Regions from separate parts of the Homo sapiens genome. Here region 1 is linked to region 2. The links are contacts of gene promoters, found by promoter capture Hi-C in human tissues and cell types (Jung and others, 2019). All regions are on one chromosome and are shown on one strand. Each heading gives the region's core, a stretch centred on a gene start or on the middle of the fragment in contact. The rest is flanking DNA. Distances are from core to core; before and after follow the strand shown.

Region 1 (6,490 bases), core at 3,055-5,554, 240 kb before region 2:
ATTGTGAATTGTAATCCCCATAATCCCCAGGTGTCAAGGGAAAGACCAGGTGTAGGTAACTGAATCATGGGGAAAATCAGTTTTCTCCATGCTGTTCTCCCGACAGTAAGTCCTCACAAGATCTGATGGTTTTATAAGGGGCTCTTTCCCCTTCACTCAGCACCTTTCCTTCCTGCTGCCGTGTGAAGGTGCCTTGCTTCCCCTTCATCTTCTGCCATGATTGTAAGTTTCCTGAGGCCTCCTCAGCCATGCTGAACTGTGAGTCAATTAAGCCTCTTTCCTTTATAAATTACCCAGGCTTGGGCAGTTGTTTACAGCAATGTGAAAACAGACTAATACATACCTCATACTGCTTATATACCTCCCAGTGGTCAAACTGAGCCACTCTGAGTGGCAAGTAAGTCTGGAAGGTGAGTATCTTAACTTTTATTTACTTCAGGTATGGGGTCGGCTGGGCTGGTCTTAAACTCCTGGCCTTAAGCAATCCTCCTGCCTTATACCCCCTAGTAGCTGGGATTGCAGGCAGCAGCCACCACACATGGCTGAGTATTTTTAACTGGGCACATTGCTGCCCTGCATAAAATTCAAGTTCTGTTGGTAAAGAGAAAGAGAAGAGTAGATATTACATAGAGAATTAGCTGTGTTGGCCATGACTACGTTTTGTTATTATATCCAGGGCCCTGAAGAGTAACCAGGCTTGCAAGTACTCTAGGAATTCCAAGTGTTTGGGACAGCTGGAAACACTGAAAGTTCTGAAGGCTGTGTAGGATTTGGGTTATTGGATAGAGGAGAAAAGCATTTTATTTTACAGAGGAAGAACCAAGGCTACAAATGGTGAAGTGTTTTCCTCAAAGTGTAGCATCTAAAAAGACGTAGCGTGGCTGGGCATGGTGGCTCCTGCCTGTAATCCCAGTACTTTGGGAGGCTGAGGTGCACAGATCGCTTGAGCTCAGGAGTTTCAGACCCAACCTGGGCAACATGGTGAGGCCCCATCTCTACCAAAAATACAAAAAAAATTGTCAGGTGTGGAGGCACACCTGTAGTCCCAGCTACTCGGAAAGCTGAGGTTCAAGGATTGCTTGAGCCCAGAGGACAGAGGTTGCAGTGAGCCGAGATGACACCACTGTACTCCAGCCTGGGTAACGAAGTGAGACCCTGTCTCAAAAACAAAACAAACAAACAAAAAAAGCACCGGGCGCGGTGGCTCGTGCCTGTAATCTCAGCACTTTGGGAGGCCAAGGAGGGCAGATCACAAGATCAGGAGTTCAAGACCAGCCTGGCCAACATTTGAAACCCCATCTCCACTAAAAATACAAAAGTTAGCTGGGCGTGGTGTTGTGTGCCTATAATCCCAGGTACTCAGGAGGGTGAAGCAGGAGAATCGTTTGAACCTGCGAGGCGGAGGTTGCAGTGAGCGGAGCTTGCGCCACTGCCCTCCAGCCTGGGTGACAGAGCGAGACTCCGTCTTGAGAGAAAAAAAAAAAAAGATGTAGGGAGGAAAAACAAAGATTAAGAACTGTAATTCAAAGCCAGGACTACCTGATTCCAAAGCCCATATTCTTAAGAATTGGGGCCAGGCATGCTGGCTTACAGCTGTAATACCAGCACTTTGGGAAGCCGAGGTAGGAGGATCACTTGAGGCCAGGAGTTCAAGAGCAGCTTGGGTAATATACCAAGACGTTGTCTCTAGGAAAAAAAAAATTTTTTTAATTAGCAGGGTGTGGTGAATGGTGGTATGCACCTATAGTCCTAACTACTTGAGAGGCTGATGTGGGAGGATTGTGGAGCCCAGGAGTTTGAGGTTACAGTGAGCCATGATCATGCCATTGCACTACGGCCTGAGTGACAGAGTGAGATCCTGTCTCTAAAAACAAACAAACAAAAAAACCCCAAAGAATTGGGCTTTGGTGGGTCTTAAATATAGTTAAATCGTGATTTTTCTGGTATAGAGTGAGTGGTCTTTTCCTGATAGCTTTTAACAGTAACAACGTTGATTGAGTACTTATGTGTGATTTTCCTTATAAACATTATCTCATTTTGAAAACGGCTTTTTAAAAAAATGTAAAAATCACTCTTAATCATTGTATAAACAAAACAAACAAATCCAATCAACATGGAAAAGAACTAAGAAAAAAGTAAAATCTTCAGAAATCTCACACCCAGAGAAAACCAAGCTTAACATTTTGATAAACATCTTTCCAGACATCTCTCTTTGTAAATAAACAGAGATAGCTGTTTAACTACATAAGTGGAGGCACACCATATATGTTTCTCTGTAGATATAAATTATCCTAGTTAATCATCCCATCAACCCTATGGGGTAGGCATCATTACCTTCATTTTATAGGCTTAGAATGGTTAGATCACAGGCTCCAGGACACAGAACTAACAAGTAGTCAATAAGTTTCAGCATTATCTGAACTGACTACTTCAATTCCCTGGCACAATTAGAGTTAGACAAAGTAAAGATGTTCTTCCATGGAGAATTTTTAAATATGTGTATATTAAGATGGCATCAAGGCATCTTGGTGACAGGAAAACACAGCTGGCTTAGCAGACTCAGCATCTATAGTGAATATATCCATTATGAATAAAATACAGTGAAGCATTTTCAGTGCTGTAAGGCTTCTGGGAGACACTGTTAGTTTGAAGTCTCTGTGTGAAGCAATGCTGCCTTCATGTTACTCCGGGCAATGCTACCTGGTCTATCACATGACCAAGTCTTCTAGGACTGTCAGTGCTTACAGCTCGTGATCATTGCAAGGGATCTTTATTCTGGTGCATTGCAAATGACTTTATTCATACCACACCCCAGCCCCAGCTCTGCTGATGCTTTCCTTTGTAGTTGTATTTGCCAGAAGTTGTGGACCAAGTTGAATAATCTTTAGAGCTGCAGGATTTTGAGTGAATGAATGAAATAGGTGTCCTTCCTCCTTTGTTGATGAATAACAGTTCAAGTGGGTCAATGAGCCCCCTGAAGTCTTCAAAAGATGTTTTACCATTAACAGAGTACTGATTAAGTTATGGTACATCCATATTATGGATTATGGCACATCCATATGCTGGAAGACCATGTGAATGAATGAATGAGGTGGATCAGGAAAGAATGCCAGTTGTATAATTCAGTTAGAAGAAAAAAAACCAAGCTGCAGAACATATTGTAGAGTACGCTTCACCCTTTTCCCCCTTTTTGGTAACTTTTAGAAAAGAATATAAACATACATGTACTTTTTCTGGTAGAACCCATGAAAAACTATTAATAATCAATAGCTGTTATCATTAGGAAGGAAGGAATAGAAGTTAGCACTTGTCGTGTTATGCTTTCATGTTTAAAATTTCTACTCGTATGCATGTGTAACTATTATAATGTCATAATTATTATCTAATACAGTCAGGAGTGAGCTGGGCAATAAGAATGTGGGTCATCAAATGTTTTCTTCTCTGTACTTCTCCATGCTTAAACAACATTAAAATTTAAGTTTAAATGATGCTTTAAGAGACATTTCCTTTCTCTTTGAAAGAACAAGGGGCCCTCTCACCTTATAGACTCTTGTTGTTAGAAGAAATTCACAGAATAGCACTGTAAGCGCAGGGCTCCAAGTGATACAATAGATCCGAGCAATAGTGTGATAACTGAATCCAGTTTGGAGGACAGATTTATCTTTTCTTTTTCAATTGTTATTATAAGTCAGGCTAGACTACCAAATAGTGCCAATTCAGTTCAGTTGGTGGTGTCTGACTGGGGAGCTGTGTTGAGAAGAACCAAGAGGCCAAGTCCGGCTTCGCTGTGGTTGGTGAGCCAGGCTGCCATGGGGTGAGGGTGGGGAGTGGAGTAAGAGTCAATTTCCCTTGTCTGAAGTTCAAGCTCAGTGTGGGTGGGTGTCACCAAGGGACAAGTTCTCCCAAGTCAGCTGTGGCCTCCCCCACCCCAGCATGCCAACATATCACAATATGCTCCCCACAATGTCCCAACATCCCAGAGGGAGAAGCAAGGTCTAATGGACATGGGAGACTACAAAACTTAATGGTGCATGAAATTAGCAATGAACACTGGGAAACGTAAGTCACAGTCCTGTTTGATCGGGGATGGGGTGAAAATCACTATCATTTCTTCAGAATAGGAGCTAAAAGCAGAGAAAAACACAGTACCCACTCATCAAAAGGAGCAGCACATTTCAGATGGTGGCCCTCCCACTCACTACTGCCCGTCACCGGTAGTGCGCTTCTGCAGCAGAAAAGGAGATAGCTAGGGCACTGCGTCGTGCCAGCCTGGCTTGGCCATTCAACTTTTGTGGTCTCTTGGCCTTTATGAGGCACCAGGGGAGGCCCTTCAGGGACAGTGACATCTGAAATCTAAACTGACTATCAACTAATGCAGAAGAACCAGCACGAGCAGATCTGAAAATGCTGCTTCCGGTTGAGTGTGTGGGAGCACCGTGGGGTTTTCCAGGTACTTACACATAGGGTATGTCATTCCTGCCCAGCATGTCTGCCAAGGTTTAACTAACAAGGGGCAAAGAGTCCTCTCCCTGAAAACGGCTTTTGGACCTCCTTCCGGCGTATCTGCAGTGGGGCTGACCGAGTACATGGCTGTCTGGTCCATAAAGGTGCTTCTTCCACCAATGTTGGGGACCAGCCTCAACACCACCCGTAGGGTACCTGAAGTCCAGTGGCGACAAAGGAATGAGAAGAGACAGGTTTAGAGTTCATAAAAGTGGGAGCCAGGGGGCCAGAGCAAATCAGAGACTGCAAAGGCCCAGAGCTCTGGTCTACACACTATTGATTACCATCACTTAGATCTAAGAAGCAGATGTTCAGTGCGAAACAGTGAAAGGGAGGCAGTGCGTCATAGGCATAATCTATAGCAATAGCGGTTTAAATGAATCTCCTTTGTGCTCAAACTGCGTATCTTTAACTTATCGGAGAGTAGCTAGTGGGAGCGGGCTTAACTAGGAGCCTGCACGTCTGTCTACATTCCAATGCTTCAAAGGAGTGTCTTTCTCCTTGAACACAGTGTTTACAGATAAGAGAGCGGGTCTTGCCCTGAGCATGGGAACATGATGGCAATTAGGCTTTCCTCCTCAGAGGCCTCTTGTGGCTTTCCACAACTTATTGTCCCATATTTTTATGGCCAGTTTATACAGGCACCCCTCAAGCCCTTCTCCCAACACACCAACCCCAGTGTCTGCCGCCCACATCGACTAACCAGACTAACCGCCCACATCGACTAACTGCCTAAAATAGCAGCATTGAACCGCCTGCTTATTCGTTTCTCCCAGAGCTACAGTTACAGGTCATCGAGGGGTCAGTGAGCCTTGGAAGGAGGGATAGAGACCTCCACAGCCACCTTTGAGCTTTTTTCTTTTGTTTCTCAATACAAACTCCAGTGTTTCAAGGTATTAAAAAAATTGCTGTCTCTCCAAAACTGGCAAATGAGGTGCACAGGAAGGAACAAGATCATTTGGTTTTCCATTGTTGATGCTACTCCCTTCCTTCCCCACAAAGATAAATACCATCTTCCAACTACACCTGCCTTCGATACATTGTGATCTGAGACTCTATCTTGTCCCTTGGAATTAGGTGGAACTGGGGTCTGGGGAAAGAGCAAACAATAGGGTGGGAGTGAGTGGGTGGGGCAAAGGCTAGGAAATCTGATTCTGGACACAGCTTTCCTTATTTTTTTGTTGAACAAATATTTCTGGTGTGCCCACCACAAACAAGATGCAATCTTTGCTCTCAAGAACTTAGAATCTAGTGGGGGACTGGGTCCCTTAAAAAACTTCGTCCTGTGTTTTGCTTCTTTGATTTTACTGAACCACGTATGTTGCAATCCTGTTAATGGCAGGATTCATAGGCAAACTCTATTAGATGTTTATGTTAATATTAAAAATTGAACCTCAAGTACATAAATAAATGAATGGAGTTGCCCCTAGTACATAAAGAAAGACATGAATAGAGTTGCTTGAGCATCACTTCCATCGTCATTGGGTCCTTCTGAGCACCCACCTAGATATAATTCCCCCAGATTACAGTTTTAACTAAATTCTTAAATTTCTTTTTTTTTTCTTTGTTATAGAGACAGGGTCCCACTATGTTGCCCAGGCTGGTCTCGAACTTTTGGACGCAAAAGATCCTCCTGCCTCAATCTCCCAAAGTGCTGGGATTATAGGCGTAAGCCACCATGCCCAGCTTAAATTTCTTAATTTAGTTTTCTCCTTGGTGGTTTAAATTAGCATAGACTAATAGGATTAAGGCCTTCACAAATGAAATTACATTTGGCTTTAAAGAAACAAGGTTGTGGCCTGGCTTGGTGACTCACGCTGGTAGTCCCAGCATTTTGGGAGGCTGAGGTGGGTGGATCACTTGAGGTCAGGAGTTCAAGACCAGCCATGGCCAACGTGGTGAAACCCCATCTCTACTAAAAGTACAAAAAAATTAGCCAGGCATGGTGGCGCATGCCTGTAATCCCAGCTACTCAGGAGGCTGAGGC
Region 2 (6,914 bases), core at 386-2,885:
AAGAAGGGGATGCCACTAGGTTTGGGCACCCCACTGTACACTCTTCTTTCCAGCACTAACCGCGCTGGGGGGTACGGAAGCCTTGCTGCGCCAGAAGGCGGCCTCCTGCCCTCACAGAGGCCTTGGCAATATGGATGCCCCTCCAGCAGCTGGTGAAAGAGGCAGCCAGCAGCTCCCTACTCTGCCTACCATCTAGCCCCTCCAGCCCATTTCGCCTCTCTTGCCCATCCTTCAGCCCTATAAGCCACGCAACCATTTTCTGTCTCCCCTGCCTCTCCTGCCCACAACCCCCTGCCCCCAATCAAGGAGAATTGAGAAACCGTCTTCTTGCACAAGAGCAGCTACTGTCTAAATGCTTTTTGATCGTCTGCATGGAGGGGGAACTGGGCACAGCCCTGGACCCAGTGATGGAGCCAAGCTCTAGCTGCCCTGGCTAGCCAAACCCGCCCTCACCCAGCTCACTGTCCCCGGGGTCTTGGCGATTCAGAATTTGTCAGAACATACCGTCTCTATCCTCTTCTCTGTGATGTCAAGCCTGGTACCACCAAGAAGGAAGGAGGGAAAGCAGGAGCCTTATCTCTCCTACATTCGCAACCTCTTCCTCCAGCTCCCACACGCCTGGTGTTATGTAAACGCACCTTCAACCCCCACCGCAGCCCTAGCGCGGCCTGGGGGCTCCGGGGCCTGGCACAGCTCGGTGCCCGAGGATAGGGAGGTACAGGGTGGCCGAGGAGCCTCAGGCCTTACAGAGGCCAGGCAAGAAAAAGTCAACTGCAAGGCAGTTGCATAGCATAAAATGCGGCAGCGGAGCAAAGGTCAGACGGCGAGGAACCGCCTCGCCAAGGAGAGGGAGTAGGAATGCCCAGTCCTGAGCCAGCCCCTCGCTGACCATCGAGGGAGAGGCAGAAGGGGAGGGAATTCAGTCCGTCACGGCTCCGAAGAGAAAGAAAAAATCTACGTCGAGCATAGGCCGCTACGGCGGGCTGGGAGATACACGGCAAAGCTGGCACCGTGGGCACCGAGCTGGGAGGTGGGCGAGCCGCCCAGAGCGAGGGCGCCCCCCGACCCAAACGGTGGCTCCTGACCAAGCCCAGAGACGCCCGTTCCAGCGTTCGAGGCGGATGGTGGCAGGAGAAGGAAAGAGGCCAGGCCAGAGGCAAACTCCCGGGACACGCACGGGGCTTCCCGAGTCTCAGAGGGCGGGGAAGCCGGGCTTGGCAATGCCCAGGGGTCGGAAACGGCGGTGCCAGGCTGTGAACACCCCCGGCGCCGTGCCGGCCGGGCCGAGGGCGTCAGGGAGCTGCGGCGCACCGCAGCGACTCAAGGAGGCGCAGGCTGAGGGAAGGAACACTGAGGCGCGCCTAGAAATAGCGCACCATTTGCCCCAGCCCAAGGGGGGAGTCGCGTCGCGGCTCAGAGAGGGGCAGTTTCAGATCTCCAAACCAGCCATGGACTTACTTTGAGGAGCTGCAGGGTCACAAGCATCGCCCCACGTCTGTGTAAATCCTGAAGCCGGGGCAGGTTAGCCGCCGCTGTACTCGCAGACGCCGGTCGGAGGAACCGGCAAGGCTCCCTGCGCTCCACAGCGCCAGCTCCGCGCTGTCAGCTCAGCTCGCTACCTCCGCGGCGATGTTGCAACCACTGCCTGGGAAAATGGCTTTTTTATGAATGGGAGGGAAGGGAGCGCCAGTGCGCACGCGTGCCGTTCGCGATTCTATGAATGGGTGGGCACAACAGACCCTGAGCGCGCATGCGCTCCGCTCCTTTTTTTATGAATGGGGGGCGGGAAAAGATCTTAACCCGTGATTGCTGGGACTGGCTCAAGCTCCACCAGGAGCCGTCGTTCTTTTACAAAGAGGGGTGGAGGTTCCAGTGGAGGCTGTTGTTGCCTTTTTTTTTTTTTTTTTAATGAATGGAGGGCGGCGGCGACTGCTGCAGCTGGGCCAGCTGCGCGGGCTGCACCCCCTCCCAGCCTGCGAGAGGAGGTAAAGGCCACCTTCACGCCACTGCGGGCCTGGGCAGGAACCGTCAGTGTCGCTGGGGGGTGGGGGACGCTGCGGCCTCCGGATCCCGGGTTGAGAGCAGGGTGGTGGAGGGCACACCTAGATCTGGGGATCTCTGCCCCCCGCAGGCAGTCAAAAGGGGGGGCGGGAGGACCCCTACTGGGGGCCTTCTCTTGCTCTAGACCAGAGACGCCAGGCGGGAGGGGTCTTGAAGCTGCGTTTACCAAAAATTAGGAAAATGTCCATCATTCATATCAAAGGGTGGGGTGAGGATTGGTGAGTGAATCTGGTTCTTTTTCCTGAGGCTGAATCTCTCGTGAGTGCTGGCCGCCCCTCCCCCCATTTCTTGGGTGTAGACAGTGACTGGGCCCAGGCCTCTTCCGGCTCCAGTACCCCCCGGGGCGATTCTGGCAACTCAGCCAGAGGAAGCCTGGCCCTCGCCTCCCAGCGTTCCCCCCGCCCCCCGCCCCAGTGCAATGTCCGCAGTGCCCGGGCGTCTGCCCGCTCTCTGTCGCCCTAGCTAGGTGTCCTTTCTCTGTCCCAGTCGGTTTCCCAGCCCTCACAGGACGCTGGCCTGAGGAGCCTCGGTCCACCGAAGGCCCACGGCCCTTCGCTGTTGTAGGCGCCTTTCCCCAATATCCCCCACCTCTCACCGGCCTCCCCTCCGGGGAAGTGGGAGCGGCCGAGAACTGGCCAGGTGGATGGGTGGAGCCGGCTGCGCCGAGGATGCTGCCGGGGTGGCCTCAGGATTAAATAACAACGGGGCTCTTGAGCCGCAGAGGAAATGGAAATGGCTGGGGATCCTTTCTTCGCTGTTAATGATGGTGGCGTTGGGGGGCGGGGGTGAGGATCAGCTCAAGCCGGTGAAAAGAAAAGCCCCCGCCATTAGGCCTGACTCCAGGAAGGCGGGGAGCCCTCGCAGCAGGCCCTGCTCCTCCCTGGAACGGAGGAGCCTGTAGCCTCCGGGAAGTCCGGGGCGGGGGGTGGCTTTGATGCGTGGATAAGAGCAGAGTCTGGGCCAGGGCTTGGCCCTGAGTCCCTTGTAAGGTCTGTCTTGCCGCTGTTCTGGCCGCACGGGGAGATTGTGTGGCAGTCTTTTTCTTCCTACGCCACTATAGGATTGTGCTTGGCTGTTGTCAGAGGAACCAATGAAAGGCTCCCAGCCCAGGGCTGAGGTCTGGCCTAGGGCTGGGGCTGGGACTCTAGAGGCAGGCAGCCCAAGGTCACCGAGTCCTAGCCTAAAATGCCTTCTCACCATTCGGCTCACCCCTCCGTGTACTTACCCAGCTCCTGAGGGCAGAGCAGACTCTCCCCTAGGGAACCTCAGCCTTCCTTTCAGGGGCGAGACCTTTCTCTAAGACCAAGAGAACTCTTCGCCAGAAAAATGGGTACAGTTGTCCAGGACTTCCTTTTAAGGCTGTTGAAGTTCAGTATCGCCCTCTCTGTCAGCTGTAGAAACTGAGGCCAAGGGTCCTGCACCGGGTATATGGAAGAGCTGGTAAATTGTAGCACTTATTTTCTAGGTCTTTGCAACCTGGCTTTACTTTGCTACCAACCCTTCTCAGCATCACAGACCTAAAAACCTGTTTCTCGCATGTCATTTAAGCATTTTAAACAATGAAAGTTGAAGCAGTAATTTTCCAGCTGGTGCTCACCCATGGCCCTTGCTGAAACAGTCAGAAGGATGGGAATAAATAAATCTTAAATCTATGGCAGAAAAGGAGGATTGGAGGAGCCGCGGGGAGGGGGGTTGCTATCCTGTTTTCTTTATTAGAGAAACTCAGGAGACAGACAGGATTACATTTCATAGTCTTTCTCAGCTTCCCTGAAAGAGAATGCGAGGAGACCCCAGCCTGTGGTGGGGAGAAGGAGGAGCTCCCAGTCTTGAGCTGGGAGGGGCCTCTGATGCTTAAGTACAGCGAGATTCAGAGCGTCTAGAAGGGCTCTGGAGGTCATATTCTGGTTGTGCTTGGAACCTAAGCTGAGGAATGGTTTGGAGCAGCAGTTATGAAAAATTCATTCATTCATTCATTCATTCATTCACTCATTCACTCATTCATTGATCGATTCTGTAGTGGGGCCTGCCCTGACTCTGGAGACTCAGTGGTGAGGGACAGACAGCCCTCCCTGCCCTTGTGAAGCTCACAGTCTTTTGAAAAGACAGACAGACAGGCTGCAACATGAGGTTCTAAGTGCTAGGAGGGAAATGAGCTTTCTCTGGGGTATGTTGCTTGCCGGGGAGGTGGGGGATGGTGGAAGGAGCTGATTCTGATTTGGTCATCAGGGAATGTCTCTGAGAGGGCGGCTTCTAGTTGTGAGTTGAGACCCAAAGACTGAGAAGTGAATCTGAGGGAGGACTGGAGAAACATCTCAGGCAGAGGGAGCATGGGTGGAGGCCGTGTGTGGGAAAAGCCTGGCATATTAGAGGCACTGACAGAAGGCCTCTGTGGCCACAGCTTTATGAGCAAGTTTGAAGTGAGCCTGGTGAGGAATTCAGATGTCATCCCATTAAGGATTTTAAGCAAGGTCTGACACATTCTGATTTGTGTTTTAAACCTCTCCAGCAGCCCTGGGGCCACAGTTTAGGGGGTGAGGGGACAGAACGAAAGGTGGTTGGGGAATGCAGAGCATTTGCTCCATTGCAGGGTGAAGACATCATGTTCCTTCTTTAGGATTGGGTGGCCGGTAGGTCTGTGCTGGATTTGTTTTTCTGCTTCATCTGACTCTGTTCATTCCAAAGCTACTCGATGTCTTCCCCAGGTATAACTTTCCTGCTAGAGGCACATCCTAACAACCTTGCATTCCTGCCAGGGCTAATGACAATCTTTTACCCTGATTCCAATAAAAACAGCGTCACTCCCACCAGATTGTGGCCAGGGGAGTAGAGTAGGTTCAGTTTTGAGCTTTGTTCTTTTATTAATCTCCTAGGCTTGCTAGGACCTGGAGTTAGTGGGATTGAGGAGAGGCAGGAATTCCAATTCAATGACAGTCACTTCTGGAGCACTTACTGTATGCCAGTTGTATGTGCAGCATGTTTTCATATGTAAAATTGTTTCAAAAAGCTGGGTCTTTGGCTGGGTGCGGTGGCTCACGCCTGTAATCCCAGCACTTTGGGAGGCTGAGGTGGGTGGATCACAAGGTCAGGAGTTCAAGACCAGCCTGGCCAAGATGGTGAAACCCCGTCTGTACTAAAAATACAAAAAAATTAGCCGGGCGTGGCGGCATGCGCCTGTAATCCCAGCTACTCCAGAGGCTGAGACGGAGAATTGCTTAAACCTGGAGGGGCGGAGCTTGCAGTGAGCCGGGATCGCGCCACTGCACTCCAGCCTGGGTGACAGAGCGAGACTCCGTCTAAAAAAAAAAAAAAAAAATGGGTCTTGATTGTGTCACCCCTCTTTTGCAGACCAGAAGTGCAAGGCTCCATTTTAAAATTTTATTTATTCCACAAAAAATTGTTTTTTTGCGTGCTATTTTTGTGACACACTTCTTATGTTTCAGGCATAGTGCCAGCTGTTAACAGTTATAGTGAGAAAAGGGACAGACACAATTTTTGCTCTTATAGGGCTTATAGACAGTGGTGATGCCACAGGGAGGGCATGGAGAGGTGAGGATGGCATGTGTTTTCTTCCTACAATCTCCATCAGAACCCCCATTCGTTTCTGTGTTCAGTTGACATTTCTCAACCTTAGTAAGTATTATGCAATGGAAGCAAAGGCCCCCCTACCCAAACAGATTATTTCCTTCCACCTGTGTAGAAATTCTGGACTCCTACCATTTATAGTCAAGTTCGGGAGATAGACATTAAACAAATAGTTGATCAAAGAATCACTTAATTACAGTTAACATCAGCAGTGCATACAAAGTACAGAGAGCAGAGGAGGGGGGCACAGCCTGAGGCCCTCAAGAAGGTTCCCCAGAACTCAGATCTGCAGAATTCAGACTCAGCCAGGCTGAGCTCAGTGGTAGAAGGCCCAGAACCAGGAAAGAGCCTTGGGGACCCTAGTCCTTTGAGGAAGAGACGATGTGTCAGAACAAGAGGTTAGAACTCTGGCCTGGCACTACCTCCTAAGCTTTCCGGTTCAGCGTTTCAGCTGTTTCAGCTTTGGGCTGGACAGCTTGAAAGACAGATGGACAGACACTGCCTACAGATTGCTAGGGTTAAATCCTGCCCTTACATGCTCCATAGTCTCAGACAAGTTATTCAAACTTTATGTGCCTCAGTTTCCCCCTCTATAAAATGAAAACTGATAGTAGTACTTACCACAAAGGGTTGAGCGGAACTTGAATGGGGTATTGAACATAAGGCACTTAGAACAGTGCCCAAGCCAGGCTCGCCTGTAATCCCAGTGCTTTGGGAGGCAGGAGGATCACCTGAGCCAAGGAGTTCAAGACCAGTCTGGGCAGCATAAGGAGACACCCCCATCTCTACAGAAAGAAAAAAAAAAAAAAAGCTGGGTGTAGTGGTACACGTCTGTGGTCCCAGCTACTTAGGAGGCTAAGGTGGGAGGATAGCTTGAGCCAGGGAGGTTGGGGCTGCAGTAAGCCGTGATTGAGCTAATACATATTAGATAATTATTCAACATATGCAACTGTTTTGTTGCAAAGAATTAGTTAGAATTTCAACAGAAGCTCATTTATCTGGGTGCATCAAGAACTCAGAAAAACAATCTAAAAATTTTTTTAAAGTCTTTATTAATAAAAAGTTAAAACAATTATACTGCAGTTGTCATCAATGTTTTAACTAGAACAGTTTTTGCAGGACAAAAGCATTTTGAGGCCGGGCACGATGGCTCACGCCTGTAATCTCAACATTCTGGGAGGCTGAGGCTGGCAGATTGCCTGAGTCCAGGAGTTCAAAAACAGCCTGGGCAACATGGTGAACCCCTGTCTCTACTAAAAATACAAAAAATT

Evidence for each region. The method cuts DNA at HindIII sites, captures the fragments that hold promoters and counts their contacts. A contact is called where the count stands out against the background at its distance.
Region 1: a contact is called between a fragment that was not itself captured here and the fragment with the promoter of SPRY4 in region 2, in 1 of the 25 tissues and cell types used here (small bowel).

The regions. Positions count from the first base shown.
Region 1 is chr5:142,084,137-142,090,626 of GRCh38, forward strand. LOC105378204 (a long non-coding RNA gene) reads right to left here. Exons shown (of 3, transcript XR_944368.3): 3 at 4,528-4,659. Among named protein-coding and RNA genes, the nearest start is that of NDFIP1, 21 kb to the right of the region's middle. The HindIII fragment of the contact is 8,153 bases long and covers 229-6,490 here.
Region 2 is chr5:142,323,386-142,330,299 of GRCh38, forward strand. It overlaps SPRY4 (sprouty RTK signaling antagonist 4), which reads right to left and starts at 1,636. Exons shown (of 2, transcript NM_001127496.3): 1 at 1,459-1,636. It overlaps SPRY4-AS1 (SPRY4 antisense RNA 1), which reads left to right and starts at 1,908. Exons shown (of 4, transcript NR_120664.1): 1 at 1,908-1,985. RefSeq lists enhancers at 1-598, 599-1,561, 1,043-1,102. The HindIII fragment of the contact is 10,639 bases long and covers 1-6,914 here.